4 separate regions of the Homo sapiens genome follow, and all the other regions are linked to region 4. Evidence: promoter capture Hi-C in human tissues and cell types (Jung and others, 2019). All regions are on one chromosome and are shown on one strand. The core of a region is centred on a gene start or on the middle of the fragment in contact, and the rest is flanking DNA. Distances in the headings are between cores, read along the strand shown.

Region 1 (2,884 bases), core at 287-2,786, 140 kb after region 4:
AGTTTAATTAATTAATTGCCCTCAAACATTCATTGAGCACTTGGTCTGCCTGGTGTTGGGGATGCCAAATAAAGAAACAGAGACCCTGCTTGGTCTTGAGAGGATCATAAGCCAGCAGAGTCATGATTCTAATGTTAGATGGCGGAGGCTTTGGAAGACAGGAATAGCAAAAGACAGCTCTGCCTGATGGAGTTAGTGAACTGTCCCCAGATGGAGGTGACTTTTGAGCTGGATATTGAATTTGTATAGAGGATCATTAGATAGAGGAGAGCATTAAATCTCCCTGGTATGGAGAAGGGTGCAGATGCTGTGAGAATATGGAGAGAAGGTACAGGTCAGGGGAGGAAGATGAGACAGAATCTGATGATCTTTGTGAACCAGACCGAAGAGTTTGTATTTTATCCTTTACATTGGCCATGGGAGTTAACAGAGGCTTATAAAAGACACTACTTTTTTTTTTAAAGGATGGGGGAACTGATAATGGGTGCTTTTCCTAGCAACTTCTTTTCTTGGGATGCTTTTCTTCTTTTTCCTTTCATTTTTTTCCTCCGCTTCTCTTCACCATTCACCACCTTTTTTTCCATTGCTGTGTTTCTGGTAGATGAAACCTCCAAGGTTAAGTGGGTAGTTGCAGTGAATTTGATGTAGGGAAAATAAAAGGAACATTCCAGGTCTTTAAAAAATTTTTACTTCAGTTGCCAGTAGGGTTTAATTTGCGGGTGGTAGAAATACTGGGGATGCTGGGACAGAAATTAAAATGCTTAATGAACCAATGCTTAGGGGTCTACCACAATAAAATAAAAATGAGATGTGACTTCATGAAAACTTGAAAACTTGTCTTGAAATACTATTCATATACCCTGATGTGTATTATTGTAGAGTGAAAAAATAAAAATACAAATGCATACTCTTGCATTGCTTTCCCACACATTGATCTGCAAAGAGAAAACTCTTCAAGACTTTGGGGAGAAAGTCCATTACTGAATTAATCAAACAACCATCTTCTATCTGCACTTTTATTTTATATACCCTTTACACCTGTTTAATTAATCCTAAACATGAGGCTGACTGCTAATTAAACAGCCTGGAAGTGACTGACTGAAGGTAGTAATTTGAGATAATTAGTTTTGGTTTCAAACACTCAATTTTCACACTTTCTGCTCATTTTTAGAAAGGGTGGCTCATTATTATAGGCAGGGTGGGAGTTGTGTAAGTCATTTTACTGCTGGACTCTTAGTAGCTCAGGAAGTGGGAGTATCGGTATCCAAATAGGACAAAGAAATGGTGTAGGGCTATATATTTTGCTATAGAATGCTCCCCTATTCCCTTCCCCCCACACAACCCCTACTCGCACATACATATAATTTCTTCTAAAGTGAAAGTCAGATGGCTGACTTATTTTCGTTAGGATATAGGAATGCACATACTTTTGATATTTGGGAAATTTTTACCTAGTAAGAGGTAGATCTCACTAAGTTATCCATGGTTTCCTTCCCAGGTCCTCTGAAAACAAACAAGAAAAGGTGAGAAAGGGCAAGATTTGGTGTGTGGTTTGAGATTTGGAGGGGTGTCCTTGCGAGTAGTCATGTACTATGCAGTCACAAAATCTAACCAGGGGAAAAATTTGTCAAGGTAAGGTCAGTATATCTGGCAGAGAAGGCAAAGGGCAGGAGGAGGTGGGTCAGATGGTTTTCATGGTCCCACAGTGTTAACAAATAAGTTAACACAGTCCCCACTAGGAGAACAGAACCAGAAAGAATTTGGGGTTAAATGGGCCACGCTATTCTGGGTACTCTCTGTTACGGCCAATGCAGGTGGATCCAAGTTACATGGAAGCTGAATGAATAGTCAGCACCATGGACAGCTCCAAGCACATTGCTCTGCTGCTGCTCCCGGGATGACTTTTACGTTTTAGGAACTTCACTGTCATTTCACTGGCCACTAGTAGGGAACAGGACTCTCTAGACTTAGGAAGGTTATTTAGATGTTGAGAGCTTTACAAGTATGTCAAGGGTGGAGTTGAAATGTTTATATAGATTGGGAATCATCTGTCTACACTGTAGTGGGGACTATTGGATCCCAGAGTGTGCAGCCCTGTGGGGAAAGATGGAACTGCAACTCCGACATCCTCTTTGAGCACTGACATTAGCTGCAACATGTGATGTAGCATAAAGTTAATTTTTTCATGTACAAGTCAAACCTGCATCTTCAAGTTACCTGAATTAGGGCATCTTGGAGTCACTTTGATCTCTGAACTTTCACTCATACCACAGCATGGCAGCAGAGGAGTTACTATACACAATCACATAGCTCACTCTCCCACATTATTGAGAAATGACATAGGATTCCTCATTTCAAAGAATTTCTGGCAATTCACCCCATTAAAAGAAAAATAGTCTCTTCTAAAGAATTTATGGTCTGGATTCCCTTTTCTGTGATGTTTTGAAGGGGGTTAGAATGATGTTTCTATGAGAGGATATGTGGCTGCTGGCAATTCTCAAATCTTTTTGTGGCACTCTGATTATATCAATAAACAGTCAATAGACTTGCAAAACTATATATTTACAATAATTTACTAAAAATATAGTCTTAAGACTGAAATGGTATCAAGTATAAAAAAATCTTATATTAAATTCCCTGTTAGTCATTGTATAGCATTTATGTCCTATAAAGCCAAAGCCAGTTTCAGAGGTGACCTTTTCTGATGTATATGCCTTCATTTTTCTCTCCTTTCTGCACCAGAGCTTATCATGTACAGACTAAAAAAGCAACATCAACAAAAAGCAACATCAACAAAAAGCACAAATGTTTTGCTTTGGCTCCAGAAACAATGGAAACTAAAGCAAAATGAAATTCTTTCTCACTGTTTAGAAATATTGTGCAT
Region 2 (2,700 bases), core at 32-2,531, 150 kb before region 4:
GGGCAATTCCTTATTTCCTTAAGCAAGGCTTCCCTTACCTCCCTGGCAGGGTCAAATCTCTCTGTTATACCCTCTTCTAGCACCATATCTCTTACCACACCACGATCATAGTATGCATATTATATTTGGTGATTTTGGATTAATATCTGTCTCTTCAATTAGACTGTAAACTCCTTGAGGGCCAGTGTAATCATGTCTGGTTTTGTTTACCCATACATACCCTAGAACAGTATCTGACACATAGTGCCTAATCTATGTATAGAAATCAGTCAATATTTATTAAATGAGTGAATGAGTGAGTTATTTTTCTCCTTAGTCCCTGTTATGCCATTTCTGAGTTTACTTCCACTTCTGTCCATTTGTGCCTTCATTCAAAAATGTTCATTGAGGCTGGGCACAGTGGCTCACACCTGTAATCCCAGCACTTTGGGAGGCCAAGGCGGGAGGACTGCTTGTTCAGTCTGGGCAACATAATGAGACCTGTCCCTACAAAAGAAAAAATAAATTAGTGGGTGTGGTGGAGCATGCCTGTAGTCCCAGGTACTCAGGAGGCTGAGGTGGGAGGATTGCTTGAATATAGGAAGTCAAGGCTGCCATGATTGTGCCACTGCACTCTAGCCTCTGGGTGGCAGAGCAAGTCCCTGTCTCTAGAGTATATATATATATATATATATATATATATATATATATATATATATATATATACACATATATATACATATTTTTTTTCATTGAGTACCTAGCATGTGTTAGACTGTATGATTGCCTGTGACCGATTAAATTATAACTGGTCTAATCAACTACTGTTAGGTAGAAGGAATCATTTTACCTGCAAATGATTCTGGATAAGCCCTGGCAAGAATACAGGAATTCATCTCCTTAGAATGTAACTGTGTATATGGCAGAAACTTAAGGCTTCATGGACTATCCCTATGGACTCTTCAGTATATTATTATTGATAATGTTAGTCAACTAGATTATCTAATTTAACCTTGAAAGTTTTTTTTCCTAGCTCCTAACCTAATCCTACTTGCAGATTTCTTGCTCAACTGCAAATTTAGTTTTGTAGCAAATTAAACTATCAGTATATGTAAGAACTAGATAAAATAACCTCAAATGTTTCAAATCCTGACCTAGTCATGTATTACCTATATGAAGACTGCAAAAAGCCAGCTGATTAACTTTCATCAGTGACTTTTGATTATACAAGTAATTGTATTCTCTTAATGAAATCATATTTTAGGCAAATGATGTAGTCTATATAAATGAGTCATAGCAAAACAGATTCTTACATATTATGCATATTTGTACTAACTCCATGAGTATAAGCAGTAAGGTATTTTTGGTAGAAGTAGAGTTTCTCAAATTATGTAAATTGGACACGTCTGGGTGGATAATCATGAATTTTCTGCTGAGTGTTTAATAGAAGGAAAATGCTTTTTTCTTTTAAAAATTATTTTGAAAAACTGATTATTTTTAATCGGAAAGTAAATTACTGAAAACCTAAAAACAGTAGACTTCATATCATCTGTAGGAGACAGCAATTATACTAGACTATAAATGCCATGAAGATGGAGATCACGTTTTTTTGTTGTTGTTCACCATTATATCCCCCAAACTTTAGTACGATGATTGGCATATAGTAGGTGCTCAACCAATTGAATTGTACTTGATATTTATAGAGGATAAACTAGCAATGCTTGATCTCAGTGTTGGTGTTAATAGGTCAAGTTGCTGGCTTGTGTCTCAGTTAATGAAAGAAACCTCAGTACAAAGTATATTCTAACTTTGAATTAGGAAGATCAAAACAGTAAGTCTGACTTCTTATTGCATGGTTCATGTGAGAAAAGTTTATTCAGATTTGTTATATTTCTACATATATGAATTCAGAGGCATGAAGGTTTGGTTCAATTACCAGTCTTATCCCTTTCATTTTTGCAAACTGTCAGGGTCGGAATTAACTTTAAAGCCACCCTTTTTACTCCAAGTTCCCATCAAGTGTTTGAATCCCTTTCACCATACCTGTACTAATGTCCTGGCCAAAGTTTGAACATTTCCTAGTGGTGGGAAACTTAACACCTCCTGAGGCAATACATTCAATTATAGGACAGCTTGGTCAGAAAATTCTTTATTCTGTTGCACTGGAATTAGCATTCCTGTGCTTTTCACACCCCAGCAAGGATGACTATATGGAACACATTCCTTTTCCATACAACACTCTCATATGGAGTTGAAGACTTTGCTGGCCAGGCAAAATCTCCCCACTTCATGCGAACATTCCATGCAGGGCATGGTTTCAAGTCTCCCTCTCCAGGTCCTCTACCAGTGTGAATGTGTATCCATTTGTTTATATCTCTTTTAAAGTGTGGTGTTCGGACAGATCTCAGTATGTTAGGTGTGCTTTATTTGCAGCAACCATGATCCTTGCCAAAATACTGGGTTTGTAGATAGCCATGTGTGTCTCAGACATTTTCTTCTGGGTGCCTAGTGACAATTTCTATGAATCTGCAACAACCTCCTGTGTAAGTAAAGCTAAAGAAAGATTGGAGAAAGTGATTCTTTCCTAGGTCACATAAAAAACTACTGGGGAGACTATGTAACTCCTTTTATCTCCATGCTCAGGGAACATATGAAGGTTAACATAAAGCTGGTTAATGCTTTTGCTTTGTTTTGGATCATATTTCCCTAAGTAAGATAATG
Region 3 (2,987 bases), core at 108-2,607, 160 kb after region 4:
TTTCTTTCTGTTCACAGTTTATTTCCAGGAAGCCTTCTCTAATCTTCATCCCCTCCTCTTCCCACCCAAGTTAGATTTCTCTTCTATGTATTCTGTCAAATGAAAACAAATCCAGACTTAGATAAGGAGGGATTTTATTCAAAAGAAAGACCATTGCCACAGAGAGAATGCTCCAACCTCAGAAATTGTCAAGTGTCACAAAATCAAAAAGAAAGAGGCTTCCATTATATAGGGTAGGGAGAGATAAGCAAAAGCTTAATTAAAATTGTAAAAGGGATTAAGCAATGGAGGGATGACCAGTGGAACGGGGGAATGACCAGTGGGATGGGGTGATGACCAGTGGGGCGAGGTGATGACCAGTGGGACGGGGGGATGACTAGTGGGATGGTGGGGGGGGTCATCAGTGGGACGGGGAATGATCAGTGGGATGGGGGATGGTCAGTGGGATGGGGGGATGACCAGTGGGATGGCGGGGATGATCAGTGGGTTGGAGGGGGAGTCATCAGTGGGCCGGCGGGGAATGATGAGTGGGCCGGCGGGGGGGTCATTGGCGGGACGGCCGGGGGGTCGCCAGCCAGACGGCGGGATGACCAGTGGGACCGCGGGGGTGGGGAGTCATCAGTGGGACGGCGGAGGGATGATCAGTGGGACGGGAGGGATGACCAGTGGGAGGAGGGGATGATCAGTGGGATGGCAGGGGGGTCATCAGAGGATCAGTGGGATGGGAGGATGATCAGTGGGATGGTGGGGTGGGTCATAAGTGGGACGGGGGATGATGAGTGGGACAGGGGAGCATGACGAGTGGGATGGGGGGATGACGAGTGGGATGGGGTGGATGATGAGTGGGATGGGGATGACCAGTGGGATGGTGGTGGGGGGGATGACCAGTGGGATGGTGGTGGGGGGATGACTAGTCATCAGTGAGACGGGGATGGTGGTGGGGGGGATGACCAGTGGGATGGTGGTGGGGGGATGACCAGTCATCAGTGAGACGGGGATGGTGGTGGGGGGATGACCAGTGGGATGGGAGGATGATCAGTGGGATGGTTGAGGGGAATGATCAGTGGGACAGGGGGATGATCAGTGGAACTGGGGGATGGCCAGTGGGATGGGGAGGATGATCAGTGGGGTATGACAGGAATTGTCCTGCTGTGGTCAGCTGATTCTCAGTGCAAGCTAATAAGGGGGCCACATTCCAGTGTTTAGTGCTTTCTCAGGCTTGGGGCCAAGTAGAATTCAGGGACCTGTAGGAAGGAGAGAATCCTGACTAAAGTTCTGTCAAGGCAAAGTAAGAGGGTAAGAGGTGAACCACTGTGAACACTTGGTCAGTTTCTGAGGTCCCATGCAGACATCTTACCACTTTTTAAATTATTCCCTTCTTTTTCTTCAGAGGTGGAAAGCATACCACAGACATCTTTCATTAGCACTGTAGCTGCACTGTCTAGAAGATAATCTGAGAGTGCTTGTTGAATGAAGGAATAGATGGACATGGCAGGTGAGTGCATGCTGGAGACAGGACATCAGGAAGTAGGTAGCTTGGAGAAAGTCAGATGGCGTGGCTAACAGTCCACATAAAAATTGTTCTGTAGCAGAGGATGGGACCCTGCCCTAGGGTCAGGGCTCAGCATCTCATTCTGTTTAGCAACAGTTGAGAGACATGGGATCTGGGTTCTGGGGCATGCCAGTGCCGCAACCGGAGGGCACATGGGAAGGAAGGAGAGCCGGGAATCAGAATTAGGGACAGGTTTCAGTTGGGAAACAGAAGCAGTAGCTTAAGTACATGATAGCAGGATTGACACCCAGGTTGCTAAACTTGAATCTGAAAACCAGAACCAGATAGTAGATCTACCATTCTTAGATTAAGAACCAGAGATCTGCTATGTCAGACAAATAGAGTGGATGCAAAATCAGAAGTAGATAAATCTGATGAATATATTATTCCTCTTTCAATTGGTTTGGAATGTTCCAGGTATGTAACATGAGATGTGAGTCATGACTGCAAGATGTCCTAAGGTCTAAAGCTTCTGCTATTGAGTCATGACTCCAGGCCCTGATGAACTTGCTTATTCACCATTCATTTAACACATAATTGGTACCCAAATGAAGTTCCAAGAACTTGTTAGGTGCTGGGAATTTACAGATCTGGTAAAAGCCTTTGAAGGGATTTGATTTGGAGAGATATGGTACAGTTGAGGTACGTGTGCAGAAACTGGATTGCAGGGTCAAGATGGAAGCAGAAGATTAGTTAGAAATCTATTGTGTGTCTCCAGGCAAGAGCTGGGATTGGCTTGGACTGGAGTGGGAATGAGGGCCAGAAGCAAGTTGGTATTGGCACAAGTGGTCACAAGGTCCCAGGCATGGAGGATGGGAATCACTTGATGCTGTGGGGATCTATGCCATTGAAACAAAACTCATTTAAGACATCTTGGCCAACCGCAGTTTGTGTCCTGGAGCCCTTAGATTGGGATGGGCATGTGCAGAATGACTATGTGGCTCCCCAGAAAGAATCCCACAGAGAATGATGCAGAGATGGGACATCAGATGAATTATTTCCTGGCAAAATTCCACTCAAGACTCAGCATCAATGATACTTCCTTAGTGAAGGCTTCCTGGGTTCCCTTAAGTAGTGTTAGATGAGCTCTATTCTGTGATTGCAACACTGTGTGTGTACCTTTAGTAAAGAAAGCATTTGTTTTACTGTCTCAGACAGGACTTAAATGTAAGCCTATGAGGCAATTTAGGGTACAAAAACTTAAAACAGTATAGGAGTAAATCTGACTTCTCAGGCAGGGTTAGCTCCACATTTTAAAATGAAGTCTACAGGAATGTGTCTTGCTCCAGCTCTGGGCTCTGCTTTCTGGTGTGCTGGCTATATGCTTAGGTTTTGCCCATGTGGTGGGAAGATGGCCACCAGCAGCTGTAGGCTTGCATACTGCCAGCTTAGTAACTGTATTCATTTCCCAGAGCTGCCTTAACAAATCACCACA
Region 4 (2,700 bases), core at 151-2,650:
ACCCGAACAGAACAGGCGATATATACAGGAATTAATGAAAGATTCCTGACATAATGCTTATAAGTTCATGATGCTTAGGAAGATAAAATTCATTGTAGAGATGCCGAACGGGGGTCTAGAGCTTGCCTTTTCGGGGTCTCTCCCGTCCTTCTCCATCCTCCTTATCTCCTGGGCTGCCCCCTCTCCCCCCGCGCCCCGCTCTCCCTGGCTCGCCCGGGCCTAGGGCGCCGCCTGCAGTTGCGCGCGGCCGCCTCTAGATGGAACTTTCTCACCAACGCAAGGCCCGGCCGGAGCAGCTACCCGGGAGCTGGGCGGCGAGGGGCTACTTTCTCTCATTCCGGCGGGTGCAGGATCGGGGGGCCTGGGCAGTAACTAGTGGGGAGGAGCGCTGGACTGTGCACGTCGAGCCCGGCAGGTTTCCGCATGCGGCATGCGAAGGGAATCCCGAGGTTTCCCTGCAGAACCCGAGCACGGCTCCCCCGGAGTTTCCTGCCCCGCGTCTGCGGCTCCTTGAATCATCTCAATAAAATGACCGTCCCGGTAGCCACCCATGCCCCTTCCTGCGCAGTGCCCGCAGCGGACCGCGCTGTGTGGTACCTCGAGCCCTGGGGACTCTGTTGCACGCGTCCCTCAGACCCTCGGGGGCGGGGAGTGGGGAGACAATCGCCAGAGCCGCGGGGCGGGACAAATGGCGGAACCGCCGCGCGGCGCCAGGCAAACTTTGCAAGGGAACCGCGCGGCTTGCCGGCTCTACTTTAAGCATTCCCGAAAAGAAAGCATGTGGCGGGACACTTGTCATCTACCATGTGTTATTCTCGGTGACGCTTTCTGGAGCTGTGTTCACCGGGGACCCGGGCTCGCGGGTGCTGCCCGCTGTGCTCGGGCGGGCGTCGCGCCTCCCCGCGCCGGTCCCGGGCTCGCCAGGCAGCCGGAGCCGCTGGGCTCCTCCACAACCATATTCCTTCTTCTACCGCTCCCGCTTCTTCCCACCCTCTCACTCTGTAGTTGGGTCCTCCCCTTTTTCTTGGGGGCGGGGAAGGGGGGATGATTTTTAAAAATCAGAACTATTGACATTTCTGGTCTCCTCGTCGCTTCAGGCTGAAGAGCGGAGGGGGATCCGCGGGCCGAGGGTCCCCCTCCCTGCCCGCGCCAGGGCCGCTGGGTGACACCGAAATCCAGAGGCTCCCGCCCCTCGGGGGTTCCTCCTCCCGCTTCCCGAGGTGACTGGTTGGCGCGAAGCGATTGGCGATCCCGGGCGCGATCCTGGCCGCGGCTCCCCGCGCCGCGCCGGGTGAATGGCCGCGGGCGGAGGATCGGGAGGCGCCGGGCGCAGACCAATCGCGGCCGCCGGTGGGAGTATTTGTTATTCACATGGAAGAGACTTGGCGCCTGCTAGGCCAGCTCAGCCCCCTCAGCCCAGAGATCAGCCACAAGTGCGGCCGCTGTGCTCGCCTCACGCGGCGGCGGCGGCGGCGGCGGCGGCGCTGACATGGAGCTGCGGGCCCCCGGCGGGCTTCCTCACCGCGCCCTCTGCGGGGAGCAGGGTAAGACTCGCCGCCCGGCAGCAGAAAGCGGCTCCGAGGAAAGCAAGTGCCGAACCACGGGACAAAAAGCCCCTGGCCCCCAAACTTCCCCAAAACGCCCTGCTTGTTGGAAAAGGAGAATCCCCCCGTTTTATTCCCCTTTCCGTTTTCTTCTCTAAAACCTTTCAGCGGACAGCCAGGTGCACCATTCCTTCTCATATCACTCTAGTGATTTGTTTTTCCTGAGCACAAGTAGATGGCCCTGCATGTCCGTAGTCTGTGAGAGAAATAGCGGGCGGAGGTGACGGGAATGGGGGGAGAAGGAGAGTGGGCACCAGGGGGCGAGGGGCTGGCCGGGCATTGGAGCTTGATTGGGTGTCTGTTGATTTTACGTTGCAAAGAACAAGGCAGCCACCCCTCTTGTCTGCCCATGATTACATTACAGTAAAGAGGTTCAGAAAAGAGGGAGACTTTACCCGGAACTCCCAAGGCTTGGAGATGTGATCCCCCAAAAGTTTAGTCGGCGAATGGGAGACTGAAGGGTGACGGGAAGGGGGCAGGCGCGCTCGGCGCTCTGACTGGGCGTGCGGCGGCAGGATTTTAAAGCGCTCTGCCTCGGATCGTCTGCCCTGGGTGACCTCCCGGACCTGCCCTGGTGGAATCCGGACTTGCCCCGCCGAGATGACGAGGTACCTTCGTTTCGCGAACCTAACAGGAGGGATTTCTGAAGTTAGCGGCTTCCGGGATGAGTCGGGGTAACCCCCGCCCTCTGAGCGTGGGCTGGATGGATGTCTAACCAGGATCTAGGGAGGATGGGGGTCGCGGGGGAAGCCGGGCGCTTCGGGGTCCTCGACACCCACATCCCCGCACGGCGCACGCTCTGCCTCGAGTTTGCGTTCTCCGAGTTAGCACGGCGAGCTTGGGATTTCCGTGCCCCTCTTTTGTGGCTTTCGAGAAACGCCGGAGTTCCGTGTCCTGCTGGGGGTTGGGGGGATGGAGAAAAGGTCTCGGGGATCTTGTTTAAAAAGCAAAGGCAAACGCACCCCAACAGCTCCTCGGTAGCTCCCGCGGCTGGCGCGGCCCCAGTTTCGGGCGGCCCCGCGCGGGGCGTGGGCGCGGGCGCTCGGGCGGCCAGGTGCGGCGGGGGCGGAGGCTGCATCCCCAGCGCGCCGGAATG

The links. Contacts are between HindIII fragments. The study calls those that stand out against the background at their distance.
Region 1: a contact is called between a fragment that was not itself captured here and the fragment with the promoter of GRM8 in region 4, in 1 of the 25 tissues and cell types used here (bladder).
Region 2: a fragment that was not itself captured here is called in contact with the fragment with the promoter of GRM8 in region 4 in 1 of the 25 tissues and cell types used here (adrenal gland).
Region 3: a contact is called between a fragment that was not itself captured here and the fragment with the promoter of GRM8 in region 4, in 1 of the 25 tissues and cell types used here (dorsolateral prefrontal cortex).

Annotation. Positions count from the first base shown.
Region 1 is chr7:127,106,902-127,109,785 of GRCh38, reverse strand. All of the region lies in intron 2 of GRM8 (glutamate metabotropic receptor 8), which reads left to right. Among named protein-coding and RNA genes, the nearest start is that of MIR592, 50 kb to the right of the region's middle. The HindIII fragment of the contact is 5,062 bases long and covers 1-2,884 here.
Region 2 is chr7:127,406,040-127,408,739 of GRCh38, reverse strand. No RefSeq gene overlaps it. Among named protein-coding and RNA genes, the nearest start is that of ZNF800, 15 kb to the right of the region's middle. The HindIII fragment of the contact is 8,913 bases long and covers 1-2,700 here.
Region 3 is chr7:127,089,417-127,092,403 of GRCh38, reverse strand. All of the region lies in intron 3 of GRM8 (glutamate metabotropic receptor 8), which reads left to right. Among named protein-coding and RNA genes, the nearest start is that of MIR592, 33 kb to the right of the region's middle. The HindIII fragment of the contact is 3,292 bases long and covers 1-2,987 here.
Region 4 is chr7:127,251,641-127,254,340 of GRCh38, reverse strand. GRM8 (glutamate metabotropic receptor 8) reads left to right here and starts at 1,400. Exons shown (of 11, transcript NM_000845.3): 1 at 1,400-1,544. RefSeq lists a silencer at 133-192 and an enhancer at 313-562. The HindIII fragment of the contact is 12,389 bases long and covers 1-2,700 here.